Regions from separate parts of the Homo sapiens genome. Here all the other regions are linked to region 1. The links are contacts of gene promoters, found by promoter capture Hi-C in blood cells and fetal thymus (Javierre and others, 2016). All regions are on one chromosome and are shown on one strand. The core of a region is centred on a gene start or on the middle of the fragment in contact, and the rest is flanking DNA. Distances in the headings are between cores, read along the strand shown.

Region 1 (4,075 bases), core at 915-3,414:
TGTTAAAGAGAAGAATCAAGGATGACCCCAAAGTTTTTGGCTGAACTACTAAAAAAACTGAATTACCATTTGGTTAGAGGTAGAAGATTAGTGAAGAAGCAAGTTTGTGTATGCATTGGGAAGGGGGTGGTTGGTAGTGGGAGTATCAGGAGGCCAATTTTAGAGCTGTTAAATGTGAATGTCTATTACACATCCAGATGGAAATGTTGAACAGGTATATGGATATATACATCAGAATGTCAGTGTTGAGATCAGAATCTCTTACGCTATCAGAACCAAATGTTTTAATAATGCCACAAATGTTTCAATAAATGCCTATGAACCAGGTGATTCTTGAGACTCTTCTTTGTATAGGATTTATATTTTCAGACAGATTTTAGCTGGTATTTTTTTAAGGAGGGCAATAATCATATTACCATAATAAGTGATATCATCATAATTGAATAATGAGCTTAGGCATATGCTTTGAAAAAAAACCTACATACATTAAATAAAATTGAATTCAAATGAATATCTTTTGGAAACAACTACTGAATTCACAAATGTACATAAAAAGTTCTTAAGCTTAATCTAAGTAATAATATAAAAAGAAAAATACTATTATGAATAAAACTCTGGATACCAGAGTGGACAATTGAGTCTAACATATTCCCAGAGAAGTATTTGAAGTAGACTAACACAAAGAAATCTTGCCTTGAGAATCTTTACAATCTTTTACTTAAACCTTTAATAAAGATTCAAATAAAATGTTAAGAAACTTTCTAAATGGTTCTGAAAGTAATGGTCCAGCCAGGGAAATAAGGTCTCTCGCCTCTGTCTTGGGGCTTTCAGAATAGACTGGATGACCTTAGAATTAAAGGCAGATTCATGTTTTTCTGAACAGTACCTCCTTGTATTGACAAGTGTTTCCCCAATAGTTTGTTTTACAGTAAATGCTTCAACTAAAGAATCCAATTATTAACCCATTCACACTGTTTCAGTTTGCAGATAACCATTTGCCCAGCACAAAAATCTTTATATTGTTCTCAGAAATTGATTCTTGACTCTACACAGCAAATCCTTCGTCTTTATTGTTTTGACCCATTACAAATGCTTTCCACTATGATGGACTTATATTCTCCTTTTCTCCTCTAGCACTTACTTTCTTTTTTCCCCAGGAGTCCAAGTCTTGGCAACCTTTGAAAAAATCCCATTTGAGAGACCTTTCAGGAGGCCAAATGCTAATTTTACCAGCAACAGCTTCACATCACAGTACTGGAATGCGGTCAGCCACCGGGCCCCTGCCATTATCTATGACTGCTATCTGCGGCTCACTGGAAGGAAGCCCAGGTGAGAAGCTGAGTCAATGGCTTTGAGAGTGTCACTGCATGGGAGATTAAGGCCCCAAAATCTTTAGTGCTTCCTTCAGCCGAGGATTAAAGGAGACAACTGAATCTTACCCATATATACAGATTGAACACACCTAATCTGAAAATCCAAAATCTGAAATTCTCCAAAATCCAAAACGTTTTGAGTGCTGACATGATGCCACAAGTGGAAAATTCCACATACCTTACCTCATGTGATGGGTCACAGTCAAAAGACATTCAAAACTGTTTCATACATAAAATTATTTAAAATATTATGTAAGATTACCTTCAGGCTCTGTGTATATGGCTAAGTGTGTATGAAACAGAAATGAATTTTGTGTTTAGACATGGGTCCCATCCCCAAGATAGCTCATTACATATATGCAAATATTCCAAAATCTGAAAACAATCAAAACCCAAAACACTTCTGGCCCAAGTATTTCACATAAAGGATACTCGACCTGTATAAGTTTTGAACAAAGCAGTCATAGTGAGAAGCCACAAAAGACATTAAAAATGTTCCAGCACAATAAAGGAAGGTAAATGTTAAAGAGGTTGATGAATTCAGCAAGTAATCATTCATGCGAAAAGAAAAGCAATTGAGACTCTGTCACTAGGGTTTTCTGAATAGGTAGATAATCTTAAATATACAATAATGATGACAACCTCACTTACTGAGAGTTTACTGTGGCACTCGTGGGGCTAAGGCTGATGCATGATGATCCCATTTTCATTGTCACAGCTACCCAAGGAAGATGTCCTCATCATCCCAATTTTACAAATGGGGAAATAGAAGCTAAGGAAAGAATCTGAATTAGTCTCAAAGGAAGTGACAGGAAGGATGTGGAGAAAGCCGAGTCTCAAAGTCAGTATTCGGAACCAGATTTACTGCCACCTAGAGATGAGTGAAGAAATTAGAGGGAACACAGTGTGCTGATGCTAAGGCAGCTGTCACCACCTAGCTGTGTGACACAGGACATACGCCTTTATCTGTCTCGCTTGAATAATATTATGTGTCAGAGGAGTCATTGTTATAATTGCCTAAGGCAATTCTCGTGATCAAGAATCAGAAGTATGAACAGTATTGCCTTCTGTGCTAGCCCCTTTATAAGGGAGGAAGTCTTCTTCAGCGTGTTTGTCATCTTTATTAGCAGTGCAAATGACTAAAACTTAGCCAATGTAGAGTTTATCTAAATTTTTAAAGACCTCATTTGGAGCTCATAACTCAGTTCTTGAGCAAGGTGAAAAGGAAACATTGTGATTATGGGGAAAATATTTGTATGGGGCTTATTAAATAAAGACAGGAAAAGAAGAAAACCCAAATATTGTAGGCAGAAATGCTAAAGGTTTTAAAATATATCAGGATTGGAAGAGGGCCTGCATAAAGAACAAAGTTCAGTTAGGAAAAAAGAGAAACACAGAAGGAAGAGACACAATAAAAATCTATATGTATCTTGTGAGAAGTCAAACAGTAATATTTGTGGGAAATGGGTTGGTTTGTTGTGTGGTATGTATTTTAGCAATAATCTTTATGGCAGAAAAAGCTGAAATCCTTCTAGACCCTTTCCTGCTCCAGGTGTGCTTGTGTATACTCTCCTATGCTTTTACATCCATATATGGACGTACATAGTTTGCTTTGCAGTAGGGGGGTATGTGTGTATATAAATCAATTGTACATATTTTACAACTTTTTCCACTAATTTTCCATGAAAATCTAAGTCATTCTGCCCGGTGTTGTCTTTTTTTTCTACTGCAAATAGGGCAATGAATATCAGTGTGCATGCCTCTTTGTAGAATGTGCCTGTGTCAGGAGAGGATGCTGAGGAGGGAGACTGCTGGATTGAAGAGTATGTGGAGTTTGTGACTAGTGCCAGGTGACCCTCCCTAAGGAAGAGACTGTCAATTGGCACTACCACAACAGTGTATGAAGGGTACAAAAGTCTTTTTTTTTTCTTTTTCTTTTTTCTTTTTTTTTTGAGATGGAGTCTTGCTTTGTCACCTAGGCTAGAGTGCAGTGGCGAGATCTCAGCGCACTGCAACCTCTGCCTCCTGGGTTCAAGCGATTCTCCTGCCTCAGCCTCTCGAGTAGCTGGGATTACAGGCGCCCGCCACTGTGCCTGGCTAATTTTTGTATTTTTAGCAGAGATGGGGTTTCACGATCTTGACCAGGCTGGTCTCGAACTCCTGACCTCAAGCAAGTCACCCGCCTCGGCCTCCCAAAGTGCTGGGATTACAGGCATGAGCCACCGCGCCCGGCCAAGGGGTACAAAACAGTATGTCTTACCCTCTTAATGGGGGTAAGAATACTTTGTAAAAATCAACTTCTGAATTGTCAAACTCATAAGGAATGACATCTTTTTGTTTTTTTGATTTGCATTCATGATTGCTGGAGGGGCTGGACTTTCATTCATTTATTGGACATTTAAGTTTTCCCCTCTGTGTGCTGCCTGCTTCTGCTCCCTATTTTCCTATTGGGTTGTCCTTATTAATGTATGGGAACATGTGTGTGTGAATACATATTTCATATATTTTCTCCAGGTCTGTTTCTTTTTAGCTTTGACTATAAAGCTTTTTGTAATATGAGTGAAGATACATATAATGCAGGGCTTAGGAACATGGAGTTTGGAGTCAGGCTTATAGGATTTAAATCCTGGCTTCACCAATTTAGCCATTAGAGCCCTAAATTACTTCATCTCTCTAAATCCTAACTTCCTATTCTGTAAAAT
Region 2 (4,216 bases), core at 229-2,728, 270 kb before region 1:
TGACTAATGTCTTGTGGTTCTTTCTAGAGTAATAAAATTTAATGTCCATGGACTTTGACCTTCAAAAGACCAAAGACAGGCTGTTTCAAGAACGCGGTCTTGAACAATTTGTTGACATCTTCACAAAAGAAAAATAATTCTCTAAATCAGTAACTGAGTCTCCGGAAGGTAAGGAATCCTGATTTCATGAAATAAGGACAGCATCACAGATCTAAGGGGAAACAAAGCCTGAAAAAGAGGAAGAAAGGAAAAGACTATTCGTAAGCTTTCAAAGGAGATTGGATGGAAATTCTGTAATTAGAAGGTTACCATGTGTGGAGGGCTGTGGGGCAGGCAGCATTCAGTGTCATTTTGCATTCTTATAGAGATCTGAAATGTGTTTCCTTACTTTGCCTTTTCCAGGTTTCTTCTTGGAAACCCCCACATAGTCTCATGAGCACCTACAATGACAGAAAGGGGTAAGTCAGCAGCCCCATGTCTTTGAAATTATTGGATCGAAATTCTCCTTTCCTTTAGTTATACCTGCCATCTCTTTAATTCAGAAACAATTCTGAACTTTAGTGAATTTTTTGCAATCGTTTTATTCCTAGCTTAGGACTGTTTCTGCTCCTGAAAATCATAGAATTCCCAGATTCTGTGGGTGAGAAATCACTTCATCAGAGACACAATAAAAAACAATCAATGTTTTGAAAATGCAAAGTCTGGGTTGGTCACTGTGACTCCTGCCTGTAATCCCAGCACTCTGGGAGGCCTAGATGAATGGATGGCTTGAGCTCAGGAGTTCGAGAACAGCCTGCGCAACATGGTGAAACCCTGTCTCTACCAAAAATGCAAAAAATTAGCTGGGCATGGTAGCATGTGTCTGTAGTCCTAACTACTCAGGAGGCTGAGATGGGAGGATCACTTAAGGCAGAGGTTGCAGTGAGCCAAGATCTGGCCACTACTGCACTCCAGCCTGGGTGACAGAATGAGACACAGTCTCAAAAAAAAAAAAAAAAAAAAAGGAAGAAAAGTTTGTCACTTGAAATTTTTTTTATTATACTTTAAGTTCTTGAAATTTTTGAAGTATCATAATAGACACACTCCTAAGGGAAAGAAAATGGGAAATTACTATTTATTTATACTAATGTTTTAAAATATATATTCTCCCAGTGATCGTTTGTTTATAATGATTTGATCAGTTTCGTCTCTATTTAGTGTACTGGCAACATCTTTAGACATCAGCAAGACTCAGGAGTAACATGTTTTTGTGCTACCCATAAAATAAACAATTTTTTTCTCCAGTCAATAATCATCTCTCATCTTTCAACACAGTTGCTCTACTGCTTACTATAGGTCTGTTTTGAGTTAATTTTCAGTGAAAGGCAGGCAATTTTAACTATGAATCTTCTTTCCTGGATCAAATGACCTACCCTCCCCCAAAACATGACATGTTATTCATAATCCTGCAGTTTTATTAAGTCATGTACTCTTTCGACAAATAAAGGAGAATTCAGTTTAACTACTGACTATCACCAGATGGAATGGTTGCTACAATAAGACAAACAATCTAGTCATTGCAAGTAACCAAGATGAGCAACTTAGTTCTCTGAAAAGTTATCTAAATAAATTACTGGTCATCATACATTTTTGTGCAAAATGCTAAGAAATCTTGTTTCTTATATATTCTAGTGATTATTGTCCTTCATTTATTATTTTCAATTATGTCTCTAAAATATAACAACAGGAACAACTAAAACACAGTGTCAAAAGTGAGCTCTTCATTAAAAAAAAAACATGCACAGGATATTTGGTGCTAGTCCCAGTGGAGATTTAGGAGATTTTCAATCTGTTCAGGCCAATGATCACTGAAGCCACAGTATGACTCTATTTATTCATTTATTACAGAAAATTATTCTACAAATAGAGTAAAAATTAAGTGCCTATAGTGTGATAGTTGCCTTGTCTGGCACTACAGAGATGGCTAATTATCACTCTCAAAAATAAAGGACATTATGGGATGTAATACAATAATTGCCACAATAGTCAGCATATGATCAGTGTCTCAAAGAGAAATTCTGATGAAATACTCTGAGAGGAATGAACAAAGAAGGGAGTATTTGAAAATGGCACTGGACCACGAGCAAGATTTCAGTGGACAGGGAAGGCATTGCTGGTGGGACGTTCACTGAGCAGTCAAGAAGCAGGAAAGTGCACAGTACATTTTGAAACCAGCAAGGTGACTACTTTGGTTTCTATAGGAGAGTAACAGGAAAAAACTAGGGACAAATATTAGCTGGTGTCTACTCTCTGGATAAAGGAAGCAAAGAGTCCAATTAAACCTCTGACTATCACAGGAATACATACTGTATAAACCAGCATGATGAATTACATAAAAGGATTCATTCCAGACAAACTTGTGAAGGGGATGAAATTAGTCTTTGATTCTCATATTGTACTCCCTTCAGTGTGGTAATGCTTTCTTTAAAAATTTACTTGCAGCTCCTTACTTTATAGGAAATTGTAAAATTCTGGTTAACATCTTCAACTGTTACCTCAGAGATGTTCTATGTATTTTAATTAGAATAAAAGACTTATCATGGGAAAAATAGACACCCATAAGACACACGTACCTGCACATGTATCCACTGACCCTAAAATGAAAGTTGAAAAAGAAAAAATAAAATAAAATCAAAATTTTTAAGAGAATAAAAAGCTTTTTAAGGGTAAAACTAGAATTTCAAGCATAAATCGGTGCATAAAGAAAAATTGGGGACAGTATTAACTATCTTCTGCAAGTTTCTAAAATCAGTTACCACCTGTAGAATTAAAGCTCCATCTAAATGTTATCTGAGCCCTTGAACTTTCAGGTAGAATTTATTTTTCTTCCACAGCTATACAGATCCTGGGAGTAAAACTTCTAATGCTGCAGAACGTGAAAAATTCCACTAAAGAAGTAGTTCTAAGCATGTGGTGAGGGGTACTAGAGCATTCGATGCTGGTTATTTAGGCAACATCCATTATGAACTCATCTCTCTGTTTGTTTCTTCCATAGAAGCCGGAGTGCCTACACTTTTTATCTAGCCTCCCTTGCAAATACAGATGACTATGTCACATACTTCTGGCCACAGAGACTGAAGCAGAGGTCTGCTGGGGGACCTTCTGGAAAACATATGCTTCACTGATAAAAGGGACAGATAGAGTTTATTGATATCTTACAGCTAACATTATAATTAATGAGGGAAAACAGAAAGTCCACTAAAATCCAGTACAAGACAAGGATGTCCACTCTTGTCACTTCTATTCAACATACTGCTGTAAGTACCAGCAAGAGCAATCAGACAATCAAGGAAATAAAAGGCATTCAAACTAGAAAGAAAAAAGTAAAATTGTCTCTAATTTGCAGGTGACATAAGTCTATATGTAGAAAACCCTAATCATTCCACAACACACAAAAAAAGTTAGAACTCATAAATGGATTTAGGAAATTTTTAAGATACAGAATCAATACACAAAAATCAGTGGTATTTTTATACACGAATAATGACCTTGCTGAAAAATAAATCAATAAAGCAATTTCATTTAAAATAACATCAAAAAGAATACAGTCATGTATCACTTAACAATGAGGATACATTCAGACAAATGTGTAATTAGACAATTTCATCATTTTGCAAACATCATAGAATGTACTTACACAAACCTAGATGGTATAGTCTGCTGCACACCTAGGCTATATAGGACAGCCTATTGCTCCTAGGCTACGAATCTGTACAGCATGTTACTGTACTGAATACTGTAGGCAATTATAATACAATGGTAAGTATTTGTGTATCCAAACATAGAATAGGTACAGTAAAAATATGGTATTATAATCTTATGGGACTCCTGCTGTATATACTGTACCTCCTTTTCTATGTTACAAAAGATTAAAAGCAGTATATCTGTATAGGATACTTCCCATGAATGGAGCTTGCAGGATTGGAACTTGATCTGGGTGAGCCATGAGTAAGAGAAGTGAAGTGAGTGAATATAAAGGCCAAGCACATTACCATATTCTTTTAAACAATTGGCAGTGCAGTAGGTTTGTTTACACCAGCATCACCTCAAAGGTGTGGGTAGTGCCTTGCATGATGTCATTATGATGTCTACAACATTACTAGGCAACAGAAATTTCTCAGCTCCATTATAATTTTATGAGACCGCCATTGTATATGCAGTTTGTTGTTGACCAAAA
Region 3 (4,081 bases), core at 1,357-3,856, 330 kb before region 1:
ATATGGTCTGCTTGTCTCCTCCCTCAACAACAGTTGATACAATAATAAATTTGCCTGCACAGATTTTTTATTGCTCTCACTTGTTTTTATTAACAATAAAAAAGGACAGAAAATTGAGAATAAGAGAAAAAAGGTGACGATAGAAAAATTGAGTAGACGTATTCTCAGGTCATCTTTGAACAAATTAAGAGAAGCTGAACCACAGCCAGGCACGGTGGCTCACGCCTGTAATCCCAGCACTTTGGGAGGCCAAGGTAGGCAGATTGCCTGAGATCAGGGATTCCAGATCAGCCTGGACAACATGGCAAAACCCTGTCGCTACTAAATATACAAAAAAAAAAAAAAAAAATGAGCTGGGCGTGGTGGCACACTCTTGTAATCCCAGTTACTGGGGAGGCTGAGACACGAGAATTGCTTGAACCTGGTAAGCAGAGGTTGCAGTGAGCCGAGATGGCACCACTGCACTCTAGCCTGGGTGTCAGAGTGAGACTATTTCCCCTCACCATCCCCCCCACAGAAAAGTATAACTCATCCTTTACCTGAATCCCTGAATTTGCTTGGCATAAAAAGTCCTCACATAATTGGATGAGAGTGAACTCATTGCTTATTGGGTTATTGGGTAGCACTAAGGCAATATAACTCTTATGTGAGAATAGAGTCAGGACATGATAGCCTCTGATTACAAAGATGGTCATCTATCCCAATGCCTAATTTACTGAGAGATATGTTTGGAAGATCTGAGAAAGTGAAAGCTAACACAATTAATGATGGGATCCGAAGAAAAATATCAGCAAAGCATCCCGGTTCTGTGCTGCAAATGCCCTTGGTATCTCTGCTAGATCTGTTACTTTCTTAGCACGATTTATTAAATAGAGGTGAAAGCACAATTACCCATTGATCAATGGCAATGAGAATTGAACTCTAATTCCCTTCAGATCCTCTTCTTTATAGCTGCTTGGATTGACTGACTTAATCAAGTGGATGTTTATGGATTAAAAGTGAGAAATGAGTTTTTTCTTTTGTTTTGTTATTTAATTTGAGCTTTTACATTTGAATATTTAAGAAAAAAGGAAAAATTAGGCAAGTAGTACATCACTAACCACACACACACGCACACACGCACACACACACAGAGGTTGATCAGACTCTACTTGCTATTTATTCATAGTGTGATCATCTCTGGACCAGAAGCATGGACCTCAATTGGAAACTTGTTAGAAATGTAGAATCTTGAGCTCCACCTTAGACTTATAGGCTCACAATCTGCATTTTAGCATGAGGCCTGGGTGAGTTGTTGAAGCACTGTCCTCTAGCCATTCCTAAAAGGAGCAGAGGGAGCAAAATCTAATGGGAGAGAAGGAAGGCATATAATTGGGAAGAGAAAGGTGAATGCTGAAGTGCATTTCCGATCCCTGTTTTCAGCCTATGTCAAGCAGACCAACTCTTCCTTTAAAAAGTTGTAAAGTAGGACAATAATCAACACACTGCACTTTGTTGTTTTTAAGGCATCTTAGAAATTCTATCTGAAACTCAAATGGGTGCCTCCAGCAGAATTATGGTATTTTACACACAACTGTAAAAATCACCCAGGAAGGTTTTCCTCAGGCAGTATAACTGGGTCTCACATTATGGTATCCGGTCCAATCAGTGCTGTTTTTCTAAAAATAAAATAAACTTTTTATTAAAAATAAGCATAACCATAAATACACAATGTTCTCTAGTTGCTAATTGAAACAACAATGCACAATTTAGTGTAAAATGAAAAAGAAATACCTTTTGGTATCTTTTTCACTAAATAGTTTTCAATTGCTGTTTAATCTAATTGCTTTATATCCATAGAAACAAAACTTACCACAAGCCTTTCCTTAAAGTCAAAATAGCCTTACAGGGATATAGGACTTCAGCAGCATTTTGAAGCTTAAGCACAATTTGGCAGACCACTTTCTTCTACTTTAAAGCAATACCTACGTGCAAACCATTCATTGTACACTCACAGCACTTCAAATATCTTAAATGCTCCCTCCTGTTTCTGCTGGGCCTTTGATAGTGAGACAATTAGCTTTTTGATACAACCCCTATCATAAAAGAAGGCCTCCTCTTTACAATTCACCCATCCAGTGGGCACCAAGATTCTCTGATGAAACTAGACATGCTGTCTCTCCTTTTTCCCTCCGAGACTCTGAGCTTACCTTGAGATTTTCCTCAGAATTGATTTTTACACCAACTTAAATAAGTGTCTATACACTTTCCTTGCTTTTCCAGATACTTAACAGATCTACTTTTAATGAAAGGTGACAGACCATTTTCCTCTTTTGAACGTTTGTTTTTAAAAGAAAATAGGCTTTTACATCAACCTACACAGTAGTTTTTCCACATGAAGACAAGGCTTGTTTGTTTGAAGAAGTCTCTGCTGGTTGTGCCTATTGAGATGGCAAATTACAAAGAAATGATTTGAGTATGTTCTACTTTATTTCAACATAATGATTTGCTTGTAAAATACATGAGAGGAAGAAAAATTCATGAGGATATTTTCAAGATCAGAGAACTAACTCAGAAGTAGGATTGGGATCATCTCGCCTGAAGATAAAAGTTCTTAACCATATGAAGGTTAGAAATACGGCTTCCAGAGTTTACTGCCTTGGTTCAAAGCCTGCCTTCACCAAAACTATGTTGGCAAATTGGGCAAATGACTTATCTGTGCCTTGGTTTCCCCATCAGAATAATTTTTAAAAAACTACTTATTAGTGTTGTCATGAAGATTGAGTTAATATGCACAAAACACCTTAAAATACTTAACATATAGCAAGCACCATATAAATAATCACTATTATTAGATGTAGTCTACCAGGTGGTAAAAATGAACAATTTTCCTAACATACTCAATACTATCCTTGCTTTCACCATAATTCTAGGCTTTGTGTAATCTACTTTACTTTTTTTTAAATTTGACATTCTTGCCCTCAAGGAGTTTGAAGAATTTTAATTATCCCCCCAGCAGTTATTCTGGTAATATATGCATTCACCCTTTCTGGAATATGGAGAAACTGAGGAACTAACAGTATATCTGACTTAATTATGGGGCAAAAAATGCCAAGCCTTCTGCCCAACTCTTTTGACGCTAAGCCAAATGTTCTTTCAACTAAAATACACTTCTTTAAAACTAGTTCTAATCTGTTTTGACCTCGGAAGTTCTGAGAACCTTCGGTTTTCAGCTTTTCCATCTTTTGGATGTGGCCACCAATAAACATTCATTCCCACTACTGGAAATCGCCAAAAACACTTAAAAAGAGTTGAAGGAAGCTTGTGTGTGGCTAGGAGGGCCTGAACAAAATCAATCCTCTTGACATAAATCAGAAGCATTCTCAGTCTTTCATTTCCCTATTTATTCATAAGAAGGTGGCCAAAGCGTAAGAAGGTGGTCGGAGCTTACTATACAGCTGGAAAAATGAATCTTTGAGAAGTGAAGGGACAAGACCTACATTGTCATCTAAGAAAACTAACAGGATGGAAAAAGAGAAGTGTCTTTATTCTCTCTGGGGATTCTTTGATTACTGGAAGAATTGAATTGCTAGGTGGCCGCACTGCTTTGGGCCTCTTATTCTCTCTCCAAGGCAATTGTTCTCTGCAGCATAATCTGCAGGCCCCCTAAGTCAACCTCAGCAAGTGGATGATACCCAAGAAAGGTTATTGTTCCCCCCAAATCCCTCAAAATCTTGGTGCTTCTGTGAACTGTATTCAAACTTCTGCCTTTCATGAATGGAGCTGGAAATCTCGTGAGAACATGTTTCCTGGAGGTTATTTTTGAGACTTCTTGCTTCTGGTCTCAGCCACCAGAAGAGATAAAAGCAGGAACTCGATTGAAGAGGAAAGGAGAGGAACATGCAGTTGGGGGAACGTTTCCATTCTTAGTCATTGATCCAATTAATATCTGGAGTAGAGGCTTCAGTTGGTTCAGGTTGAATCTGAAACCATTCTATTGCAATATCATATATCAGGAACTGTACTTTGTAATCGGGCCCTGAAAAGTACAGCCAGCTATTCCCTGGTGCACTGCTCAGAGCTGAAATACTTGAGCAGGGAG

What was found. The method cuts DNA at HindIII sites, captures the fragments that hold promoters and counts their contacts. A CHiCAGO score of 5 or more calls a contact.
Region 2: a contact is called between a fragment that was not itself captured here and the fragment with the promoter of FAR2-AS1 in region 1, in 1 of 17 cell types (monocytes). The highest score is 6.5, in monocytes.
Region 3: a contact is called between a fragment that was not itself captured here and the fragment with the promoter of FAR2-AS1 in region 1, in 1 of 17 cell types (megakaryocytes). The highest score is 5.6, in megakaryocytes.

What each region holds. Positions count from the first base shown.
Region 1 is chr12:29,315,684-29,319,758 of GRCh38, forward strand. It overlaps FAR2-AS1 (FAR2 antisense RNA 1), which reads right to left and starts at 2,165. Exons shown (of 7, transcript NR_103860.1): 1 at 2,025-2,165. FAR2 (fatty acyl-CoA reductase 2) reads left to right here. Exons shown (of 12, transcript NM_001271783.2): 9 at 1,158-1,329. The HindIII fragment of the contact is 3,353 bases long and covers 563-3,915 here.
Region 2 is chr12:29,041,841-29,046,056 of GRCh38, forward strand. LOC101928735 (a long non-coding RNA gene) reads left to right here. Exons shown (of 5, transcript XR_242930.3): 3 at 28-168; 4 at 403-458. Among named protein-coding and RNA genes, the nearest start is that of FAR2, 110 kb to the right of the region's middle. RefSeq lists an enhancer at 1-751. The HindIII fragment of the contact is 2,430 bases long and covers 264-2,693 here.
Region 3 is chr12:28,989,773-28,993,853 of GRCh38, forward strand. No RefSeq gene overlaps it. Among named protein-coding and RNA genes, the nearest start is that of FAR2, 160 kb to the right of the region's middle. The HindIII fragment of the contact is 1,383 bases long and covers 1,916-3,298 here.